4 separate regions of the Homo sapiens genome follow, and all the other regions are linked to region 3. The links are contacts of gene promoters, found by promoter capture Hi-C in blood cells and fetal thymus (Javierre and others, 2016). All regions are on one chromosome and are shown on one strand. Each heading gives the region's core, a stretch centred on a gene start or on the middle of the fragment in contact. The rest is flanking DNA. Distances are from core to core; before and after follow the strand shown. Region 1 overlaps GPAT3 (glycerol-3-phosphate acyltransferase 3). Region 2 has its middle 80 kb from the start of HNRNPD. Region 3 holds the start of LIN54 (lin-54 DREAM MuvB core complex component). Region 4 holds the start of LOC105377310 (a long non-coding RNA gene).

Region 1 (3,351 bases), core at 769-3,268, 550 kb before region 3:
GACTTAACACCTTGCAAAGATTTTAAGTATTTTACATATTCTACCAAGCATGTTATATAGCCAAAGCCTGTAATCTCTTTCTGGCATTAATCTGCTTTTTAAAAAAATTCTGTTTTGTTTTTGTTTTATTAAAATCATGGCCTCTGGAATTCATTATCAGTTTCTCTCCACTTAAACCAAGAGAGTACTGCTGGTTGCAAAAGGATGTTAGAAATCATCCCCCATTGTGCTGTTTTCTCTAATAATTTGAAGAAGGGTGTTATTTGCTATGTGTATACACTGTCTCCAAAATACATTAACTCCTTGTAAAGGCCTGACGCCAGTTGTATTAGTCTGTTCTCACATTGTTATAAAGAAATACCTGAGATTGGGTAATTTATAAGAAAAGAGGTTTAATTGTCTCACGGGTCTGCAGGTTGTACAGGAAGCATGGCAGCATCTGCTTCTGGGGAGGCCTGGGGAAACTTACAATCATGGCAGAAGGCAAAAGTGGGGACAGGCACACCACATGGCCAGAGCAGGAGCAAGAGAGAGAGACGGAGGGGAGGTACCACACGCTTAAATAACTACATCTTAGGAGAACTCATTCACTGTCATGAGGACAGTACCATGGGGATGGTGCTGAACCATTCATAAGAACCTACCCCTGTGATCTAACCACCTCCCTGCAGGCCCCACCTCCAACACTGGGGATTATATTTCAACATGCGATTTGAGCAGGAGGACACATCCAAACTGTATCACCAGTATTCCTCCAAGTTGCTGTCCTCTGCATAGAGTGCTTTTTCCCAGATACTTAAAGGTAAAGGGGCCAAAGTATCCCACCCACAAAATCTGTCCTCAGTATCCCCTGCATCCTCATGCTTCAGAGTCACTCTTATTTCTCAGGTGAAATGAGCAGGTACGTATGACTGTGATGTCACTTAAATACAAAAAAATACAAAAAAAAAATTCAAACAAAAATAAATAAGAAATGAGCAGGTACGGCTGCCTGGGCACCACACCAGAGAAGCTCAGAGGCAAGGTCCACCCACCCCAGGGAGAAACGCTGAGGATCAAACTGGTGAAGAGCAGGCCACATTGCACTTTCCTCTTGCTCTTGTTCACAAGCTGTTCCTCAGAAATCACAGGAGATGTAAAGGTCTACTGGTTTGCTCCCTGAGGGACCTTCTGGAAACTTCATGGGCCTCTAGGCAATCAAAGCTCTTCTTTCACCAGCCCAATCTTTGGAGGAAACAGAGCTTTGAGGAAGAGAAGCAGGAAAACCAGGCACCTGGTCTAGAAAAGTCAGTGAAGGGGGTCCACAGTGGAGCTTCCACCATACTATTCTGAGGCTGCTTCACAAAGACCAAAGCTCCTGCCTAAAGGTTTTGCCTGCTCCCCAGGCATCCAGACATCACTGGCTTTTTCCTACTCCAACCCAAGAAAAGGATTCTGTCTAATCACAAGTCCAATTGGCTGTCTCTCTTGTCTGACCAAAATCCTGTTCTCGCCAAACAGAAGCACTGCTATCTACTTCCATCTCCCCAGCCTACTGTGTACAAAGCATGCCTTGCCACCTGCCCCCCTCATCTTTTTGTTCATGTGAGAATGCATGGGTCCCAGGAGCTTCGGTGAGAGGACAGAGAAAAATGGGAAATTCCATTACCAAAACATTTTAGAGAAAGAAGAAAAGGCAAAGGAGAATGGAACGATTGTTGCTACTTGCTGGCAGATTAAAAGAACTGATGAAGAACTTTCCTGCTTTCTCCGGGTGCACTGGCTCACGCTTGCGATCCCACACTTTGGGGGGCCGAGGCAAGCAGATTGCCTGAGCTCAGGAGTTCAAGACCAGCCAGGGCAACACAGTGAAACCCCATCTCTACTAAAATACAAAAAATTAGCCAGGCGTGGCAGCATGCGCCTGTAATCCCAGCTACTCGGGAGGCTGAGGCAGGAGAATCGCTTGAACCTGGGAAGCAGGGGTTGCAGTGAGCAGAGACTGGGTCACTGCACTCTAGCCTGGGTGACAGAGCAAGACTCTAACTCCAAAAAACAAAAAAAAAATCTTTCCTGCTTTCTCTGCTTATATACTAAGTAATCCACATGAGATAGTCCCATGATTATAAACACTGCCTAAAGAAGGATTTAAAAATAAACAGACATTTAAAATTTTTATAGAGAACTTTTTACAATCAAGATGACCAGGCACTGTTAAGAAAATGAAAAGAGCTTTGTTATATAACTTATACCTCTCCCAAAATTCTAAACTATTTATCCTACTTGGAAAATATCTCATATAATCTACCTGCTAGTCTGGTCCAGTTTTCTAATCATTTTTTGCTAACAAGAAGTGTTTTCTTATATACAATATAATTCTTTTATTTCCATTTAAGCCAATCTTTTTGTTCCATCTCTTAAGAATTTGAGAAAATGTGGGTTTGCTTCCTCTTTCCAACTTAGTTAACCAACTTAATATGAGTCATCCCTTGGTTTTTCTCTAAATTCAGTAATCAGCCTTCACAGATCTCACTTAACAGATTCACAGATCTCTTAACCATTTTTCAGGCTTCAGAATTTCCTCTTTGCCACCCTTAATATGAACAGTTAACCTGGGTTTATCTACGCTTTTACATCAAATCCAAACTGCTTTGTTTTTAGGGCCTCCAGAACCCAATCTTGCTTTCCCACAACCTTATTTCTATGTTTTGTCCCTTCTATAAACTAAATATACTCCCATTGCTAATTAAGCTATTCCCTCATCCCTCCAGTTTAGACAGTCTTCTCACTTTATTTAATCCCAATCCATCTCCACATGGCCGCTTCAACACCAGTATATCCACCAAAAAACATTTGCCAATGTCCCCCATCCAGAATGATCTCCTTTCATATTGCAGGCAGAAACCAGGGTGAGTGGTTCAGTCATGGCTGTGTGGTTGAATGTGCTGGTTCTGTTAGCACTGCAGCATCTTTTTAGGTTCTGTTTTGCCTTGTTTTTCACTGGTTGTCTAAACCTCTGCCTCTGTCATTCTGTGGCACACCTTTATCACGTAACCCAGCCCAGTTTTTTTAATCCCATTTTAGAGCATCAGCTATGGGTAAACAATCTTGAAAGCAGTCCCACTCTCTGATGGTTCATTCATCAAAACTGTCAAGATGACTTTCTTTTTTTTTTTTAAGACAGAGGCTTGCTGTGTCGCCTAGGCTGGAGTGCAGTGGTATGATCTTGGCTCACTGCAACCTCCGCCTCCCCAATTCAAGTGATTCTCCTACCTCAGTCTCCCTAGTAGCTGAGATTACAGGCATGCACCACCATGCCCGGCTAATTTTGTGTATTTTTAGTAGAGATGGGATTTCACCATGTTGGCCAGG
Region 2 (3,512 bases), core at 810-3,309, 720 kb after region 3:
GATTGCTTGAGCCCAGGAGTTGAAGATTGGCCTGGGCAACATAGCAAGACCCCATTTCTACAAAAAATACAAAAAAATTAGCTGGGCATGGTGGTGCACGCCACACTGTATTTCCAGCTACCTGGGGGGCTAAGGTGGGAGGATTGATTGAGCCAGGAGGTTGAGACTGCAGCGAGCCATGATCACGCCACTGTACTCCAGCCTGGGCGACAGAGTGAGACCCTGTCTCAAACAAAAATAAAAAAACCAAAAACAAAGAAGCATAATAATTAGAAGACCTCTCATATATTTGAAAAATTGAAGTAAATTATGTTAAGTGAAATCTGTAGAATTTAAATATGTATTTAAAATTGCATCAATAAAAATAAATCAAAGAGAAAACTAATAATTTGGTATATATATATATTTTATTTTTTGAGATGGAGTCTCACTCTGTCGCCCAGGCTGGAGTGCAGTGGTGCAATCTTGGCTCACTGCAACCCCTGCCTCCCGGGTTCAAGCAATTCTCCTACCTCAGCCTCCCGAGTAGCTGGGATTACAGGCATGTGCCACCATGCCTAGATAATTTTTGTATTTTTAGTAGAGACAGGGTTTCACTATGTTGGCCAGGCTGGTCTCGAACTCCTGGCCTCAAGTGATCTGCCTCCCATGGCCTCCCAAAGTGCTGGGATTACAGGTGTGAGCCACCACGCCTGGCCTATATATATATCTATATTTGAAGTCACTCACATTCTAAGACTGAATCAAGATTCTGACTAAATAGAAAATGCTATGTTTGGCTGGATGCGGTGGCTCATACCTGTAATCCCAGAACTTTGGGAGGCTGAGGCGGGTGCATCACGAGGTCAGGAGTTCAAGACCAGCCTGGCCAACATAGTGAAACCCTGTTTCTACTAAAAATACAAAAAATTAGCCAGGTGTGGTGGCGGGCACCTGCAATCCCAGCTACTCGGGAGGCTGAGGCAGAAGAATCGCTTGAACCCAGGAAGTGGAGGTTGCAGTGAGCCAAGATTGCGCCATTGCACTCCTGCCCAGGCGAAAGTGTGGGACTCTGCCTGTAAAACAAAAACAAACACAGAAAATACTATGTTCATTGAATTTTAGTATGTCTATATTTTAGGTAGACATATTTAATTTTGGTACATCTTGGTTTTCTATACATTAGAATTAAAAATTTGTAAACTGCAAATACCAAATATTCAGGATGAGTTGGGGAGGGAGGAATGAATGTTAAAGTGAACCACAGTATGTTAAAATGAACCTTAGCATGACCACTCAACCATCTAGACCTTTCTGCCTTCTCAGAGTCCCACAGTAGGGGCTAGAATCCCCTTGGAAAGTGCCTCCATCCTTTACTGCCCAACAATCCAGAAAATGCAGGAATATGCAACAAAAATAGTTGCTTGGTGCCTAGACTTTAGTCTTTGTGAATACTATCTCTAAATGGTTAACAGGCAACAGACATGGTCAAATGCTAAATTGAATATATATGAGAATGAGGAAACTCAGAAACAGGAAGAAAAGATAATTTCAGAGGCAGAAAATTTAACATATGAACCCTTTCAGTGTAAATCCTTCACATCATATCATGAATACAATATGCTACAAATGTTTTTAATGATTATATTGATTTATACACATAATCTCCACCTAGAAAACATTTTTATTTAAAAATTTGGTGGAGTCCGCTGAAAAAGAGTTGCTAATTGTACCATCTATCTGAAAGTTACACATGTAATTTGAAGTAAATTGATACTGCATGTGAAAAAGAGATATTTTAAATTTATGCTTAGTATGTTATTAATACTATGAGTAATATTCAGAAAGCATCTATAATCTTAAAAACAACTTGAATATCTGATGTTCAGGAGATATCATTAATTGACAAAAGCCAGGTGGAGAAAAGTGTGCATGATGTGCTATCATTTATCTATCACATCATACGCTACCATAAGGGAAGTTCAAATGTACATACAGTAGTCTCTTATTTGTGGCTTCACTTTCTGTGGTTTCTGTTACTCATGGTCAACCGCAGTCCAAAAATAGGTGAGTAAAATGCAATGAGATGTTTTTGTGAGAGAGAGAAAGAAAGATGACATTTACATAACTTTTGTTACAGAATATTGTTATAATTGCTCTATTTTATTATTATTGTTGTTAATTTCTTATTGTACCTAATTTATACATTAAATGTTATCATATATGTATAAAAACACACAGTATATTTTATAGGGTTTGGTACCATCTGTGGTTTCAGGTATCCACAAGACTGGGGGTCTTGGAATGTATCCCCCTCAGATAAGGGAGGGCTACTGTATGTACTCTATATTGTGTTCTTTTTTTTGAGACAGGGTCTGGCTCTCTCACCCAGGCTGGAGTGCAATGGTGTAATCTCTGCTCACTGCAACCTCCACCTCCCGAGCTTAAGCCATCCTCCCACCTCAGCCTCCCAAGTAGCTGGGACTGCAGGTGTGCACCATTATACCCGGCTAATGTATTCTTATAGAATGTATTTCTTATAGGAAAAAAGAAAAGAAAAAAAGATAAACCAAAAACTTGTTCAAAATGGTTACCTACATAGGGGGAAAGAGTAGTAAGGAGAGGAACAGAATGCAAATTAGACTTCTCGAAGGAACTGTTTTGTAGATTTGACTTTGGTACTGCATATATATTTTGCATAATAAAAATGTTATTAATGAAACTTTTAAAAAAAGTAACCATTAGGTCCGGGCACGGTGGGTCACGCCTGTAATCCCAGCACTTTGGGAGGCCGAGGTGGGCGGATCACAGGGTCAAGAGATCGAGACCATCCTGGCAAACATGGTGAAACCATGTCTACTAAAAATACAAAAATTGCTGGGCATGGTGGCGCGCACCTGTAATCCCAGCTACTTGGGAGGCTGAGGCAGGAGAATCGCTTGAACTTGGGAGGTAGAGGTTGCAGTGAGCCAAGATTGCACCACTGCACTCCAGCCTGGCGACAGAGCGAGACTCCGTTTAAAAAACAAAGAAAAAAGTAACCATTAGAAATCAGAAACAAAATGAGAAAGATGGCTTTGTATTGAGTGATCAAGGCAGGAGATGATGGTGGCTTGGTTACTATTTGGAGAGGACAGGCAATGGGATTTGCCCATGGATTGGATTTCAATATAAAAGAGACAAGAGTCAAGAATACTATAGGTTTTAGGCCTGAGGAACTAGAAAAGTGATATGTGGAAGACTTCTGGAAGAGGCTTAGCTTTGGATATGTTTGAGATACTTTAATTAGACATTCAAGCAGAGTGGAACAAGTGGGTATACGAGTCTGGAGTTCAGAAAAAAAGGTCTTCAAAAGATTCAAATTAGAATGTAGAACACAGGTAAGCAAACAGCAAATAAGGAAAGTATCTCTTTTTAAAATCATTTCAGCTAATTTTGTCTGTGAATACAAAACTAGATTATTACCATTTTGCAATCCCTTATAAATTAGTGGCTCTTGGGCCTAGCAATGAGTATCGATAGCTGCTAACATC
Region 3 (3,452 bases), core at 659-3,158:
CCCGCTGCGAGTGCCTGCGCGGGCGGAGAGCGCTGGACCGCTCCCTCCGGGAGCCCGGGCCGGTGGGCCTTGGCGGGGAGCGGGAACCCGCCAGCGGGGTCCGCCGCGCCCCTTCCCTGAAGCTGGGTTGCGGGGGGCGAAGGATCCTTGGGGCTCGGTCTCTTCCCGTCGGCTCCCGAGAGGGTGGCTGTCACCCGGCAGGGCCAGCGCTCGGCCAGCCGCCTGCCCGGCGGTCTGGAGTAAGGGCTCCTGCGGCTGTTGACACGCACACTGCGCGACCCAACAAGCCACCCGTGGCGGCCCCAGGTTTCTGGGAACCGGTTTTGCTGCTGTGTCATTTTGTGCCAGTCCCTCCTCTCCCTACTGCCCGCCGCCGCGTTCTTCCTATGCCCCTTTGTACAGGCTCTTGTTCGTGCGTGTCCGTTTTCCTCGCGAAGCCCACCAGCCAAATGTCATAATGTTCCCGAGGTGCACGGGGGAAGGGAGCGGGCCGGGACTTAGCTTGGCCAGCAACGGTAAACAACCAAGCAGAGTGCGGATGGACGGGGCCGTCAGTGGGGAAATGAAGTTTAAAGATGAAGTAATTGAGAACACTTTATACTCTCAGCATCTGGTAGTCTGCATATAAAAACAGCAATTGGGGTGGGTGGTGGACAGCCCTTGTTGAAGGCTGAATCTACCGACTTTTATATGGAGTTGCCATTGAAACAAGGTAGGGAAATGAAATGACTTTTTCAACTTCAACTTCAACCTTACTCTTCCTACACTAACTTAGACAGTAGAGTGGCCCTGTTCGCAGCCTTGAAATTCAGTTTGCCCAGAGCTTATGTTGTGGTTGAATGATACAGAATTCAGCTTTTGGATGGTTAACTCTTTCTAAAATTGACAAAGGCAGCCAGTTTCCTTTTTTTTTTTTTTTAATGCTGATCTCTTCAGAAGCCTTGCAGCTTATGTTTTGTTATTTTTTAAATGATTAAGAATTACCTCTGTTCTCTTTTGGTTACTTATTCAACTGACTGATGACAAGAGCTGGTAACTCTTACCTACCTAGTAGGTAGCTCTAGGATCTTGTTCTGAAGCAAGCTGTTTATTTTTACTGTACAGAACAAATATATCAGCAGCAGATGGTTTTTTTTTAATTTGATGACTTAGATCCTAAAAAAACATTTGGCAAATAATTTTAGCTAAGAGTTATATTTTCAATATTTTAGAAATCGATCATTCATGAATGTTTCTACAATTAGTTCAATCATTTCAAATCTAGTTGCGCTTTGACGTCTTAAACCGATGACAGATTGGAAGTCGCAGTGTTCATGGACAGAAATGACCAGATAAATTAAGTTGGAGAGGAAGATAGCTCAGAACTTTATTTTTTTAAATTAGATATTTTGACCACTTCATCTGCATGAGGATTGCTGCCTGTAATTGACAAAGGTGTCAAAGGTCGAACATGCATATGGAAATAGCTCATCCTGTCAAAGTAGTTCTGCGGGTGGGGTAAAATGTCAAAGTTGGTGAATGACATTAAAGGTCTTTCACAGTGTTTTTAGTGCCTGAGATAGCCACAGTGAATGAAACGCATTCCACCATCTCTCTCAAGTTGCTGCTCTGAAAATGAAAGAGTTTGGGTTCTTTATTGTCCTTATGCCACCCTCCGCATGGCTTTTGGTCTTGCAAACAAAAATATGCCGGACTTGGGACCCCGCAGGTGGCGCGACTTCCTTTGGCGTCCCTGCGGGGGCCCGTGCTCCGCCCGGGGGTGAAAGGTCTCGGCGTAGCCCGTGTGCACTTGCACGGCCCTTGTGCGTTTGAAGGTTGGCGGGGCGGCGGGAGGCTTCCCCGGATATGTGGGTGTGCGCCTCCCGGGTGGGGCGGGCGGGGAGGGGAGGAGGAGGAAGGGGGAGGTTACTGGTGGTGGCGGCGGCGGCGGCGGCCCGGGCTCCGGCTGTCGGGGAAGCTGCTGAGCTGTGATGGTGATGACGAGGTGAAAATGGCGGATCTTTCGAAATACAATCCCGGCCCCTGACATACCAGAGGCGGCGGCGACGGCGACGTCGCCACCCCGGCTCCCTTCTCGGTCCCCGGGTACCCTGGAGCGCTCCAGTTTGGACAAACTGGGAAAGGAAGCTGCTGGCCAGAGCTATCGTGCACGGGCAAAACAAGCCCCGCCGGGGCTCGGGATTGCCCAGGACCTTCTGGAGCCCCTACCTCGGAGCCCGAGGGAGGAGAAAGCGGCAGCCGCTGGAGGTAGAGGAGGATGGGGTACCCGAGGGCTTCTCTGTCCGGAGATCTCTTTATTTGGGGGGATGGGGGTGGGTGGGGAAAGAATTGCGCGGTGGATCAAGGAATGACTTGTCCGGAGTGCGAAGAATCAGTAGCCTCGTCATGACATCAACATTATTCTTTGAGTGTTAAGAGGGCTCCAGTTTGCTCTTATACCTAAGGCTGCTGCTGAGGCCTAGAGGAACCGCTAGCACTTATCATGATTTCCTGATATAATGTTTAAAACAGCCACTCTGGCGGGTGTTGCTTTGATGGTGTTCAGCAGTTCTTGGGGTTGTACGTTTCTTTAGGGAGGCAGAGCATTGGCATTTTATCTGCATTTAAGATCTGTGTCTTAGATCCTAGTCTGTAACTTGTTGGGTTGTGGATGTTCACATTTTATAGAATAGGGACCAGTTTTGTAAGAATTAGAAAAAAAATTTTTAATGCTCTGTTATCCTTAGAGTAACTAACCTCTTTGCCCCTGCCATTTGGCATATAACAATTGAGATACTCTCAGTTATATTTTATACTCATGCTTTTCAGGGAAGTTCTTCTCTATACTCACCCTCCTGCCCCCGCCAACCTAGTTCATGAATTCAGAGAGTAAAGTTATGAAAAATTTTGCTGTAGATTTTATAATGCAAATGAAATACAGCTCTAGGAGCTCTCTTTTGGTCCTGAGTTTTACCTTCATTGTTAAGAAGGAGAGTTGCGATGGGGTGATGCAAGCATTTGTTGTGAGTACATTAAGTTGGGAAAAATAAATTGAGACCTCTGTTATTTCTAAATCACTAAATGCTGGAGTGATTAGCCTAGCCCTTTGTTTAGAGAGCTGGATTGATTGACTATAACAGCCACTGTTTTATTAGGTTATCTGAAGACCCATGTTAAGTTTTAGGTTATGCTGAAAGATCCGTAAGGAGTCTGTCTCCTTGCACACAACACTAGTGTTACAGAAAAGTTACATGTGAATCAAATTTTTAGGCTGGGCAAAAAAATTTTTATACATTAATTTGGACCCTATGCTTTTCCCCCAGCTTTTTTGGGTCAATGACATTGAGTGTATAATGAACAGAAGGATTAGTATTGAGGAATGCCCATGGGTAATGTTTATGATTAGCCCTAAATTTCCGTATTCAAATTGTCTACAGAGAGTATATGTGATATTATTTCCTTATTCAAATTGT
Region 4 (3,174 bases), core at 434-2,933, 540 kb after region 3:
ATGCTATCTGGGTCAGAATAAAGAAAAGATGTAAGGTATTCAATGAATATTTCTGTATAAAGCAGAACTAAGAGATTTATTTACCAGTCAATATTAGAATAACATCTAAGATGACCAGATTTTTGTAAACTATATTTAGATTTGTAGCCAGAGATAATTAAGAGCACTGGGGGGAAAGGGCTTAGACTAAACACAGCAACAAGTGGATTCAGTGACTAGAAGTACTCCAGATAGAGACCAGCTGGTGATTTGCTTTTTGCATTGTCCTAGGAGAGAGCTTTCTCAAAATACATTTGACTTCCTTATCGTATCCATAAGCATTATCATTACTTGCCCTTGGAAGGCTTTAAGCAGTACCCTTTTCTAGTATAAAGCCTGAAAGCACTATGCTTATTATCAGCAGTCTTTTTCTATTGTGGCATTTTATTTTGTAGGAATAACTACTGGAGCTTCAAGCACAGGCTGCTAGGAATGGGAAGAAAACGAATTTGAGAGGCACTGTGCAAAAGACAACAGGTGTGACTTGCTGCCTGTGGAGGAGGGTGAAGGGGAAGAAAGCGTCAAAGACATTCTGAAGGTTCAAGCCTGTATGACTGGGAAGATGGGGACACTTGCAAAATGTAGGAAGATAAGAGATGCCACCACTTGGAAGGAGACGGGGGAATGATGAGACAATCTCGATGTTCCTAACTGCATACCCCAGCAGAGGCCTTTTAAAAGCCTCGCTGTGCTGAAACGGATGAAAAATCCTGTCCACTGCTTAGTACTATTTGATTCACGTTGGCTGCCAAACAGATTATCACAAAATGTAGTGGCATAAAGCCACCATTTATTATACTCACAGATTCTGTGGGTCAGGAATTCAGACAGGGCACAGCAGGGACAGCTTTTCTCTGAAGTCTGGGGTCTCTACTAGAGAGCTTGAAGGCTGGACGCTGGAAGCATCTGAAGACCAGCCTATTCTTGTGTCTGGAGGTCAAGGCTGGCTGTCAGCTTGAGGCCTTAGTTTTTCTCCATATGGGTGAATCTGGGCTTCTCACAGTGTGGTAGCTGACTTCCCCAGAGCAATTGTCTAACCCCAGCTCTTGAAAAAAGTGAGTCAGCTAGAAGCTGTATCATAACCTAGCTTAGAAAGTTACAAACCATGGCCTCTGTTGTCCTTGTTTGGTTGGAGCAGTCGTAAGTCCCACCCAGTCTCATAGAATGGAACATAGGCCCCACCTCTTGGTGAGAGGACTGCAAAAGTCACATTGTAAGAAAAGCATGTAGGGGTGACATCCATGAACAGGGAAGAATAAGGAACATCAAAAGTCCCTCCAAAAAAGCAATAAATAAACTGGCAAAAACTGCCAGAATCAACTTTTTTAGAATTCTAGAACCTAAGCAAAAGCTTACAGCAACCAGGAGGACTTAATCAAGAAAGACTAACTACTTTTGCAAAAATTATGAGTGAGGGAAATCTAACATAACTGACTCCATCTTCCTTCTAACCTCACAAGCTGTCTTTGCTCATTCCAGGCTAACTATAGGAGGAATTTTGTATTTACTTTTATTTTTATTTTTTGAGACAGGGTTTCACTCTGTCACCCAGGCTGGAGTGCAGTGACACACTCATGGCTCACTGCAGCTTCGACCTCCCAACCTCAAGCAATCCTACTGTCTCAGCCTCCTGAGTAGCTGGGACTACAGGCACATAACCACCATGCCCAGCTAATTTTTGTTTTGTTTTCTTTTGTTTTGATAGATGGGGTTTCATCATATTACCCAGGCTGGTCTTGAACTCCTGGTCTTGAGTGATCCTCCCACCTTGGCCTCCCAAAGTGCTGGGATTACAGGTGTGAGCCACCGTGCCTGGCCTACGAATTTATAGTTTAATGTTAAAACAAAAATGAAAATAGTTCCTTCTCATAACTAACCCCCTCCTTGCTCAGGACCAAAACTGCTTTTGTAAAACTAACCAAAGGCCTCAAGCTTAGAAATGTGATAGGGCCCTGAATTCTGCTAAGATGTAGGCACAAACTCTAATCAGCCATTGTTTCTTCTGCTAAGATGTAGGCAGAGTTAAACTCTAACCAGTCATTGTTTTATAACTTGACTGTTTAAAACTACTTGGCCCGGCACGGTGGCTCATGCCTATAATCCCAGCACTTTGGGAAGCTGAGGTGGGTGGATCACGAGGTCAGGAGTTCAAAACCAGCCTGGCCAAGATGGTGAAACCCCATCTCTACTAAAAATACAAAAAAATTAGCCGGGTGTGGTTGTGGGTGCCTGTAATCCCAGCTACTCGGGAGGCTGAGGCAGAGAATTGCTTGAACCTGGGAGGTGAAGGTTGCAGTGAGCCGAGATGGCACCACAGCACTCCAGCCTGGGCTATAGAGTGAGACTCCATCTAAAAAAAAAAAAAAAACTCTTTACTACTCAGAAGTCACATAGCCACTGGTCACAAGATTTGTAACTTCCCCCAAATGCCCCTGTGGATAACATCACTGTTATAAAACCTAAGACTGATGTTTGAGATATTTTTCAGATTTGAATTTCGTATGGACCAACTGGCACCACCCATTAAAAAAAGTTGCACCCAGATATCAACTCAGCAAAAGAATAGCAACCCCCTATGATTTCATCCTTGACCCAACCCATCAGCATTACTCATTCCCTAGCCTCCTGCCCACCAAACTATCCTTGAAAAACCCTAGTCCCCGAATTCTCAGGGAGGTGGATTTGAGAATTATTTCCCGTCCATCTGCTTGGTGGGCCCTGTGATAATGAAATTATTTGCTGCAACACTCTTGCTGCTCTTAGTGCATTAGCTTTTCTGGGCAGTGGGCAAGAAGAACCCAGCTGGGCAATTACAAAACTACCTGAATCTCAGCAAAAGCTCAGGAAGCTCTGTGGTGATTTAAGTTACCCTCCTTCTAACTCCCACTCCTGTGCTCAGTGATGATGGCCTTGAAGGTAAGAGCCCAGGTTTCTAGCACAGGTAAGAATGCCAGAGGGAGCAGAATAATGGATCTCATTCACAAAGAATTGTGGTCATTCGTTTTGAGCTGTGCGTTTGTCTGCTTGGGCTGCTGTAACAAAATGCTACAGACTGGGTGGCTTAAACGACAGAAATGTATTCTCTTACAGTTCTGGAAGCTCAAAGTCCAAGATCAAGGTTCTGGCAGATTTGGC

What was found. Contacts are between HindIII fragments. The CHiCAGO score rates a contact against its expected background, and 5 or more counts as called.
Region 1: a contact is called between a fragment that was not itself captured here and the fragment with the promoter of LIN54 in region 3, in 1 of 17 cell types (neutrophils). The highest score is 5.2, in neutrophils.
Region 2: a fragment that was not itself captured here is called in contact with the fragment with the promoter of LIN54 in region 3 in 1 of 17 cell types (neutrophils); the score reaches 5.2 in neutrophils.
Region 4: a fragment that was not itself captured here is called in contact with the fragment with the promoter of LIN54 in region 3 in 2 of 17 cell types (naive B cells and non-activated CD4 T cells); the score reaches 5.3 in naive B cells.

Annotation. Positions count from the first base shown.
Region 1 is chr4:83,558,019-83,561,369 of GRCh38, reverse strand. The region is part of intron 2 of GPAT3 (glycerol-3-phosphate acyltransferase 3); the gene reads right to left. Among named protein-coding and RNA genes, the nearest start is that of GPAT3, 24 kb to the right of the region's middle. The HindIII fragment of the contact is 4,090 bases long and covers 1-3,351 here.
Region 2 is chr4:82,291,999-82,295,510 of GRCh38, reverse strand. It overlaps the pseudogene VAMP9P. Among named protein-coding and RNA genes, the nearest start is that of HNRNPD, 80 kb to the left of the region's middle. RefSeq lists a silencer at 1,898-2,098. The HindIII fragment of the contact is 4,339 bases long and covers 1-3,512 here.
Region 3 is chr4:83,009,279-83,012,730 of GRCh38, reverse strand. LIN54 (lin-54 DREAM MuvB core complex component) reads left to right here and starts at 1,908. Exons shown (of 13, transcript NM_194282.4): 1 at 1,908-2,247. RefSeq lists enhancers at 1-87, 1,969-2,068 and silencers at 1-94, 1,819-1,898. The HindIII fragment of the contact is 10,339 bases long and covers 1-3,452 here.
Region 4 is chr4:82,467,986-82,471,159 of GRCh38, reverse strand. It overlaps LOC105377310 (a long non-coding RNA gene), which reads right to left and starts at 2,155. Exons shown (of 3, transcript XR_007058164.1): 1 at 843-2,155. The HindIII fragment of the contact is 581 bases long and covers 1,393-1,973 here.